Linked DNA regions of Homo sapiens: regions 1 and 2 are each linked to region 3. Evidence: promoter capture Hi-C in 16 types of primary human blood cells and fetal thymus (Javierre and others, 2016). All regions are on one chromosome and are shown on one strand. Each heading gives the region's core, a stretch centred on a gene start or on the middle of the fragment in contact. The rest is flanking DNA. Distances are from core to core; before and after follow the strand shown.

The links. The method cuts DNA at HindIII sites, captures the fragments that hold promoters and counts their contacts. A CHiCAGO score of 5 or more calls a contact.
Region 1: a contact is called between the fragment with the promoter of CASC2 here and the fragment with the promoter of GHITM in region 3, in 1 of 17 cell types (non-activated CD4 T cells). The highest score is 7.0, in non-activated CD4 T cells.
Region 2: a contact is called between a fragment that was not itself captured here and the fragment with the promoter of GHITM in region 3, in 1 of 17 cell types (activated CD4 T cells). The highest score is 5.0, in activated CD4 T cells.

Annotation. Positions count from the first base shown.
Region 1 is chr10:118,045,328-118,048,387 of GRCh38, forward strand. CASC2 (cancer susceptibility 2) reads left to right here and starts at 1,494. Exons shown (of 4, transcript NR_026940.1): 1 at 1,494-1,776. RAB11FIP2 (RAB11 family interacting protein 2) reads right to left here and starts at 1,614. Exons shown (of 5, transcript NM_014904.3): 1 at 484-1,614. The coding sequence starts at 836. RefSeq lists a silencer at 1,052-1,541. The HindIII fragment of the contact is 9,012 bases long and covers 1-3,060 here.
Region 2 is chr10:51,692,591-51,696,078 of GRCh38, forward strand. The region is part of intron 3 of PRKG1 (protein kinase cGMP-dependent 1); the gene reads left to right. CSTF2T (cleavage stimulation factor subunit 2 tau variant) reads right to left here. Exons shown (of 1, transcript NM_015235.3): 1 at 2,896-3,488. Among named protein-coding and RNA genes, the nearest start is that of CSTF2T, 5.3 kb to the right of the region's middle. The HindIII fragment of the contact is 1,148 bases long and covers 1,505-2,652 here.
Region 3 is chr10:84,137,792-84,141,011 of GRCh38, forward strand. GHITM (growth hormone inducible transmembrane protein) reads left to right here and starts at 1,718. Exons shown (of 9, transcript NM_014394.3): 1 at 1,718-1,802. RefSeq lists enhancers at 1,086-1,655, 1,656-2,225 and a silencer at 1,799-1,998. The HindIII fragment of the contact is 9,095 bases long and covers 95-3,220 here.

The DNA of each region.
Region 1 (3,060 bases), core at 244-2,743, about 34 Mb after region 3:
AAAAGCTGTGTTTATAACGCTGAAACGAAATACTGAGTTCTAAATCTGGTGATTTATCTTTTGACAGCTACAAAGTGCGACACATCAACATTACATTGCCAGATTTAATTTCTCATCTTCCATTTCATTGATAATTGTAAGGTTTAAAATCCATAACAATTTATATGAAGTTCTAGTTGGTCAATACTGTGATCCAGTCCTCATACTGAAACAATGTTAACTTACTTAAAATCCACCACAAAATATTCAATTATTTGACAGATGTTTAACAGAAAGAATAAGGGATCATTAATGATTCCATTTAAAAAATATTTCATCACGAGTGCTACTTTTACTTCAGATTCATGCAAATATGGTGCTTAAAACTGGATCATATTTCAATCCAAAAACCAACGCCCGAAGTATACGGATAATTTCCAAGAACAGAAAAACCATAAATAAGATATAAACTCCCCCAAATTCAAAATAAATTACATAACTTACTCTGTTTTCCTTCTTTGTTTGTCCTCAAAGATGTCATTGAGATTGATTGCCACCTGCCCTAAAAATTTATCCAGACCCACCAGGGACCTGTGCATAACTATAAGGAAAAGAATGTATTTCTCTGGACTTCCCTGAATTAGCAATCCAGGTAGCTCGAAAGAGGCCTCCTCCTTCCAAACTGGCTCAAGGGTTTTCTCAGCTACAGAGGTGGAGTACTTTTCCTTGCCCAGCTGAATTATAGTGTATGTGTCATTGGTACCACTTTTGCCTTTTGGCTTCAGATCTTTGGCTTGGAGCACTGTGACCTGCACGTGGGTTGGAAACCACTTTTGGGCTTGCTCGGACAGCATCATCCTGTCCTGTTTCTCTGCCCCCGAGTTCCCTAGCACAGGCAGTGCCCCTCCCGGAGGGAGAGCCTAATTCCTTAATCACTGCATCCTAAGGACACTTAACGGAAACAGGCAGGCTCAGGGCTCCCCGACTTCCCTATGGCTGATGTCAAAACGCCTCGCGGGGGCAGCCCAGGGGCACGGCCGCTCCGGGGGTCCCCTTTCGTCTGGAGAAACACAGAGGCCCACCATCACCTGGCCGCGCCGTGCAGGCCTCTGCGCGGACCCCCGCCCCTGTCTCCACCTTCCCCAGGCCTGCGGGGCACGTGAGGCCTGGCCACACGGACCCGGGCGGAGGGCTGCGGGGGTGAAGGGAGCCCCCGCCCCAATTCTGCACCCCTGGCCTCCCGCCTGCCTCCTTGCGGCCGAGCAGCCTCCGCTGCCTCCGCGCCTCCCGCCCGCCCGGCGTTCGTCCGCAGGCTCGGCCCGGCTCCTCCTCCCGACCCCGGTAATACGAACCGCCGGCGGCTAACGCGGCCTCGCTCCCTCTCGCAAACCTCTCCCTCCTCCTCCTCCCCCTCGCCTCAGCTCCTCCTCTCGGGCGGGAGCGGGTAGCCAGGGGTGGAGTGGGGGAGGGCGGGGAACGCGGCCGCCCCGGCGCCGGCGGGACGTGGGGCGGGCAGCGGGCTGCAGGGCTGCGGGCGCTTGGTTCGGCCTGGCCCGGCCGGCGGCTCCTAACACCGGGCGGGCGGCTGCGGCGGCACTTCCGGGTTGGCCTTCTCCATGTTGGTCTCGGGAACGTGAAGGGGCGGGGCCTCGAGGTCAGGGGTCAGCACCTCCCTGGTTGCCGTGGCGACTGGAGGCGCGCGACGCGGGCGCAATGGCGGGGACCCGGGGCTTGATGCTGCTTGGGCCTGGCCCAGTGGCGGGTCCTAGGGACGTGGGTACCTGCAGAGGCCGGCAGGTGAGCCCTGGGGAGGGCTGGGGACCGCTCGTGAGAGGAGGTCATCAAAGACCCGGAGACGCCCCTAACTAGGGCGTCTTTGAGGGCAGGGGATCTGTGTTCGCTGTGTCCTGGATGCCCAGTGCCTGGCAGGAGCAGGTCCATAAATGGTGTTGGAACGAATCAGGCCTCTTCACTGACCGAAAGGAAACTTTTCTCCAATCTCCTATCCACCCTTCTCTTTTTGAAAAGTCCGTAAATTGACTGAAAATGACATCCCCCACCCAGACGAAGGGCGATAGGGAAGCAAATAGTTTCCACAGGGAGTAGAGATGTAGGGAGGCACTGGGCTGGCATCAGAAGACCTGGTTCCGGCCGCGCCTCTGCCGCTATCAGTGTGTGTGACCTTGGCCGAGTCATTTCACCTCCATGAGCCTCAGTGTTTTCACGAGTAAAAAAGCCAGTTCTACCTCATGTCTAAGACTCCATCACGACTCTATGGGCTCGACGTCAAAAGGACCCCCGTGGGGACTCACACTGTGGTGGACTGTGCAAATCATGTGGAGACCATGCCCCAAACACGGGTTTCGAGTTTCAGGGGATAATACATGTGCCTTTCCTAGCACAATGCGGCACATAAATCTCCTTTTGCCCCTCTATTTCTCAATTGGAAGAGACGCTTATGTACCACCCCATTGCTGTTAATTCTGTTCGTGTCTTACCTTCCCAAGGAAATTCTAAGTTTTGGGACTGCCTTGTCTATCATGCAGTCCCTTCATAGTGGCTAGCATGCAGCAGACAATTTACTGAATTACTTAATGCCTTTTTTCCCTTTACAAGACTAATTTTGAGAGTAAAACAATATGATACATGTAAATGCACGTTTTTTTAACTTAAATGGCCATAAACATGTAAAGTATCGTGTTTATTATTTTCAAGCAAGGTTTAAAACTTCTCATTCAAGGCAGAATTTTTCATCCCTGGGAGACAGTGTATGAAAAGGCCATGTGTGGAAAACAGAACAAAATCATCGTACTGCGAATATAGCATCTGGATCCCAGAGTGCACAGTTGTCAACTTTAAAGAAAAATATTCTTAGGGATTTTTAAACAGTACGTTGGAACAGTCAATGGTGGAATTTCACCAGGATCTCTAAGGAGAAATAATTTGACACCTGAAACTTACAAAAACCAAATAAACATCATGAAATCAAATTTAATTAAGTTTAGAGTTCTTATACATTTTAAAAGTCTTCATGTCTCTATTAAAGGTTGTAATTAAACAATAGAAAATTATAATAGTGGA
Region 2 (3,488 bases), core at 829-3,328, about 32 Mb before region 3:
GTGAGTCTGTAGGATTCACTTAAAGAATGTGTACATCGCCATACTCAGCTAATTTTTACATTTTTTGTAGAGACAGGATCTCCCTGTGTTGCCCAGGCTGGTCTTAAAGTCCTGAACTCAAGTGATCCTTCTGCCTCAACCTCCCAAACTGCTGGCATGAGCCACTGCATCTGCACGTCAGATATATTTTTTTAAATGACCAACCTTTGTAATACATATGAGATTCATTTCAAATGTCTGCAGATATTATACATACTCAATCATATAAAATTAATTATGATTGAGAATGTTGTGTATTTTTTGTAATTAGCTACGTACTTTTTATTTTTTTATTTTTAAAACCCTATGATTAAAGGGTAGTTACCTAGTTTGGGAATCTAAACCAACTCTTGGTTATAAAGGGTTGTTATTAAATGCCAGGTGTGGTGGCTCACACCTCTAATCCCAGCACTTTGGGAGGGCCAAGGCGGGTGGATCATTTGAGGTCAGGAGTTCAAAACCAGCCTGGCCAACATGGTGAAACCCCGTCTCTACTAAAACTACAAAAATCAGCCAGGTATGGTAGCACACGCCTGTAATCACAGCTACTTGAGAGGATGAGGCAGGGAAATCACTTAAACCCAGGAGGCAGAGGTTGCAGTGAGCTGAGATTGTGCCACTGTACTCCAGCCTGGGCAGCAAAGTGAGACACCACCTCAAAAAAAAAAAAAAAAAAAGCTGTTATTTGGTAAATATTTGGGTGCTTTTTAATAGTATTTAATAAGCACCAGGTTTGTTATTTTTAATGATGTTACCCCAAGTGTCACTTATTTTTAAATTCATTTTATTTTGAGACAGAGTCTCATCTGTTGCCCAGGCTGGAGTGTAGTGGCACAATCTCGACTCACTTCAATCTCCACCTCCCAGGTTCAAGTGCTTCTCGTGCCTCAGACTCCCAAGTAGCTGGGATTACTGGGGCCTGCCAACATGCCTGGCTAATTTTTGTATTTTTAGTAGAGATGGGGTTTCACCACATTGGCCAGGCTGGTCTCAAACTCCTGACCTCAAGTGATCTGCCCACCTCAGCCTCCCAAAGTGCTGGGATTACAGGTATAAGCCACCATGCCCGACTCCCAAGTGTCACTTTTGACACAATTCATGCCCTCAAATGACATGTTATATATTGTTGTAGAATAATATCAAGAACAAACATGATAGTTAATATTTTATGAGAAAGGTAATTGGTAATATGAATATTTGTGAAGGTGAATTTTCAACCAAAGGAGTAAACTTTTGTTTCAGGGTGCATAAAAACAAACGAAAATATTTAAAGATCTGATTCAGTTAACATTTGAAATAAATATATATAAGCACATTATATAGTATGCCAATATCATGTAATATCCCTATTAACATTTAATATTAAAATTTATATTTATGGATACTTACAATATATTAATGATGTCCGTAATATGAATTAGTTCTTAACCAGAGCATTCTTGATAAGAGACTGATGAAAAAAGTAAGCTTCAACCAGGAAAGTCCGTCTAGAGATTAGCTAATATAAAGCAGTGAGAGACTGACATTCTTTTGTGAGAAGACTCTCAGATGTAACTGATAATTCAGTTTCTCTGCCACAGTAGGTTGTTGCACATAATTATCCTTAGACCTCATCAGACCTAAGAGAAAGGCCTGACACACCATAGGAAATTATGTTCTGTGTGCTTAGCTAATGTCCCATCACAGCATGGAAAAACAAGAAGCTCTGCAAGCCGTGATTACGTTAACGGTTTTCTTTCTTAAATGTTTTTCTACCATTAAAATTCTGAAAAGTGTAGTTGAAAAGCCAAACATAATCTTACTTAGATAAGCCTACTTTTGACTGGGATTCACATTGGCTTATATCTTATCAAATACTCCCAAATCCTAGGAAGTCAGCAGATATTAAAACATATTTTTGGTATTAATCATCAGTAATATTAGGGCAAGGACTAATGGGCAGGCACTGATTAAAGTTGATCATTTCATAATCCCAAAAAACATGTACTGCCCAAGAGGATAAGCCTTAAAGAAGCATTAGCAAATCACTGTTTCACCCTGTCATCTTCAACTATTATGATGAATGAATTGGTGATTTTATTTTAGTCTACACATCCTAGGGAAAATTCAGGATGTGAGGGGTTATAAACGATGATTGTGTAGAAAAACACATAAAAGATTCTGATTGTGGCAATATTGCTTGCTTTATTCTTTACTATCAAATGAAATAAGGCTCTATGCTTTCTACATCAATATTGGAATGTTCAATGATTCAGAAGTGAGGAGAATCTATTTCCTTAGCTTTCACAGAGTAGAGGTGATTGTTTTTAATAACCTGTTTCTAATTGTTTTTTGAAATGGAAATAGTTGTTATAGCTCATTTGTTCTGTGTTGCATCTAAACCCTTATGAAGGCAGCATATGTGCTCTTAATGGGATTTTTTCCCCCTAATAACTCTAATAAAATATTTTGTCCTGTTCCCATCTGTGAATATGGGAATGAGATAGGCTGTCCCTGTGTTCAGTTTGTGGAAGTGGACGTAAAAAGTGCACTGCAATATAACTAATGTTGTCAGTAATGAAGATAGCTACGAGGTGCTATTGAAATACAGAGGAATTCTCTCTGGGGAACATAAGCTTAATATCTGACTACCGCCAAGATGTTGCTTATACCAACCACAAAATGGCCCATCTTTATAGTTATTTCAACTGTCAAACTATATAGATAATGGCTCTAAGTGAGTTCCATCCATTCCTGCAATTTCATTAGTTCTGCCTTTTTCATTAAAAACAAAAGGTAATCAGGCCCCATGTATATCCAGAATGGAAGACTTTTGTATAATGTATTCATTAAAAATAAACATATCAGATACTAATGTCAGCCTTAATTGTATCTTTATTTTCTGCATGAAACAATGCAGAGATTTGACTAAAGACTAACATTTAATAATTTTCAGTTACAGCCCTTCAGTGAAAGCTTTGAGATAAAGCAACTAGAATCTCAAAATGATCGAGCCAACTCTGTGAATTAGTATTAAGCATAACTATCACATATGTAAACGCGAGTTATCCTCTCCAATATAGGGGAGGCATATAGGAAACATGGGAAAGTAGCAGTATGAACAAGAGTAAAACAGGTAGTAGAAAACAACAGCATAGGGATGAAAACCTTGCAAACAAAGAATTACTAATTTAAAGTGTAAAAATTTTGCAAAGGGAAGATAACTCAATTTCTACATTTTCAGCTCTTTGTATTAAACATTTTTTCATCTGTAACTAGATATTGGTTTTTCTTCTCCATAGTAAGATCACCTGATATTTGATAATTTATGCTTTTATTACTACTTGTTTTATGATACCAACATTTATGTTCACATCCTCAAGGCTTTATTTTCAAGAAAAAATAAAGTCGTAGTAGCACAATGTGATAAGCTCCATCTTCCAACCAATTTTTAATTGTCTCATTGGTAT
Region 3 (3,220 bases), core at 468-2,967:
CAATACAAGCCCTTTACTTGAGAAAGGAAAATATGAAATCAGACATTTTTCTTCCAATATGGAGAGAATAAGCTTTAATAGGAATCTTGAAGAAAGCTTGAGTCATTGACTTCAAGATCTTTATTCTGGTACTGTGTTGTAAATCCTTTCTCTTTGCTGATAACAGAAGCTCTAGAAAAAAAGACTATCACTGAAGGAGCCAAACAGAAAACCTATTTGCTAGCTAATAAAATTGGGCATAGATCAAAATAAAAATTAAACTGATCATGCTTGATCTGTTCAGTTTCGTGAGATTTCTCTAGTGTTTTCCTGCCATTTTCAGCGTAAAGAGATAAGAATTGTGTTGCTGCCAGACTCTTTTATTATCCACATAGAAGGCAAGTCTTTATATTTGTCAAGGTTTACATGATTAGGAATCATAAATCACAATTAACTACTGCTTAGGAGATAAAGGTTCATGAATTTTGCATGTTGTTAATCACCTTATCACCCTTTCAGGGTTTTAATCTGCTCTTTCTTCATGGTATTAAGTTATCACATTATATTTTTTCTATGTTCTGTCTCTACCAGAAAGTAAAGCCACAGAGCAAGGACTTTATTTTGTTAAAATAGTGGTAGCACACACGGGTTTAATTCATTTGCTGTTTTTTTGTTTTTGTTTTTTTGGTTTCTTTTTTTTTTGAGACTGAGTCTCCCTCTATCGCCCAGGCTGGAGTGCAGTTGCGGGATCTGGGCTCACTGGAACCTCCGCCTCCTGGGTTCAAGTGATTCTCCTGCCTTAGCTTCCCAAGTAGCTTAGATTACAGGCACCAATCACGCCTGGCAAATTTTTGTATTTTTAGTAGAGACAGGGTTTCCCCACGTTGGCCAGGCTGGTCTCGAACTCCTAACCTCAAGTGATCCACCCGCCGCGGCCTCCCAAAGTACTGGGATTACAGGCTTGAGCCACCACGCCCGGCTGATTCATTTGTATATATTTCTAGAACAGAGCTTGGTACGAAGTTGAGCATTCAGTAAATATCTGTTGAAATAGAGGGAGAGTGAAAAAGAAAGTAACTCTCTCGCGTATTCCACAACTAGCTCTTCACCTATCAAATTACGCGCAATGGAAACATCTTAGTCCTCAGAGCAATCCTGGGTGCAAGGCAGAGGCGGCTGTTATCAGGCCTATTACACAGGTTTAGGGTGAAACTTGAAAATGTGGGCGGGAAAGTCACAAAGCAATGAAAAAACCATCTAGAAAAAATCTTTTCTGGATGTCACCATCTAACATTTGGCATGAGACCCCAGAAACCGGATGACTCGGCTCAGAAGCAGACACATTTGAAAAGATATTTATCTCACGATAAATTAAGGGACAAAAAGGCCTTCAAAAAGGAACGGAATAAACGGAATAATTTTTAACTCTAACATTACTTTCTTTCAATTTTTACATAATTCTTATAGCTGCGGCGAGTGAAACGACTAAAACAAAAGCAAAACAGAGCTCCACTGCCCAAAACAAAGATGGCCGAGACGACTCCCATGCCCACACGCAAAATGGACGCTGACTATGACGTTCCCTGCAACAATCCTCAACTGGCCCCGCCCCACCAATTTGGAACCCCGCCTCCTCAACCCGGAACCCCGCCTCCCCCAGTGTGGCCGCTTTTCCGACAGAGGCCTGCCCGTGATTGGCTGCTCGTACTATTTACGTCCTTTCGATGTTGCGTCATGCAGTGCGCCGGAGGAACTGTGCTCTTTGAGGCCGACGCTAGGGGCCCGGAAGGGAAACTGCGAGGCGAAGGTGACCGGGGACCGAGGTACTGCTCCGGCTGGCCGGCGGGCGCCCGGGATCCCCGGTGGTCCTGACAGCCGCCCTCACGGGACCGCTGGGTGCGGGGGGAAGGGCTGGAAGCAGCGGTGCTGCTGGCTGCGTCAGGGCCGGCCTGCGCGTTGGGGTCGCAGTCCTGTGGGTGACCTGGTGGAGAGGGCGGCGGCACAAGGCCCTGGTCAGGCGGGCAAGGGCTCAGTGTAGCTGTGCTTCTGTCCTCGGGCAACAAGGTGCTGAGTCATCCTTGCGGCGAGGCCGTACAGCCGCTGCGCTGGTAGCGGCACCTGGGGCAGGGGCAGAGGTGTTGTGGGTTGACAGGGAAGTTTGCTGCCGGGTTCTCATCTGAATCTAGCGGGCTGGGTGAACTTTCTCGGGGACCAGGCACCCAAACTCATCAATGCTCACGGAGGCATAAGCCCTTGGATTAGGGTCGGTAGTATTTTCCCCATTTTATAGCAACGACATCTGAGTCTTAGAGATCCACACTCCTCACAAGGTCACTTCTAACCTGTCAGAAGCGGGATTCCCACTCTGGGCTGTTACGCCACATGGAGGTCACTCTGAGCTGGACCTCTTCGGCCCCAACCAGTGGACTGAGTACTGAGGAAGATACAGGACAGCCATAGGTTGAGATGATGTAATGGCACGAAAGTTCCAAAAGCGCTGGGTGTTTTCCCAAAGGCCGGGTGCCGAATTTTAAGACCCTTAATAGTTCAGTTGCAGAGCTCGGAGGACGCTCGGGTATCTTAAAGCAATAGTTCTTAGCTTTTGGAGTGTTCGTTAAAACACACGTTCTTGGTCTTATTCCTAGGGGTAGAATCATTAGGAGCAAAGAAAGACCCAGGAGCCTACATTTTAAGATGCATCCGGGGCACTTTCAAGCAGGTAGTCTAAGGGTCAACGCTGTAGTCTGAACACGGAATCCTTATGTTACAGATGGGGAAATGGGCCCAGAAGTATATCACTTGCCTAGAATTCACTACAAATCATTGGCAGAGATGGGCTGGTAGCCCCAGTTGGTTTACACTCGTCATTTCATTCTGACCTATTGTAGTCACCTCACCTTAGCATTACAGAAACACTGTCTGCTGACTTCTGGTTGACCACCCATCTAGTATAATGTGCCCTGGAGCTAAGATAATCCAGTTTTTAGCATGCTTTTCTTTTGAAGACACCATCGAGGGAGTCTAATGTAAGGGAAACCTGGTTGGTAACTGAGTTTACTTGTTTACTTTGAAAGACTAAATGTCCTTTACGCATTATAGTAGGACATATAGAATAGGTTAACTTAGAATATTTTTATATCTCATGTTGAAGGAAAGTAATATTTGGTATGATTAGCTGAAATTCATATAGTTGGCTTCTTTTAATACCTTTTAGCTTTGTAATGCAGTATAACCTTGAAGA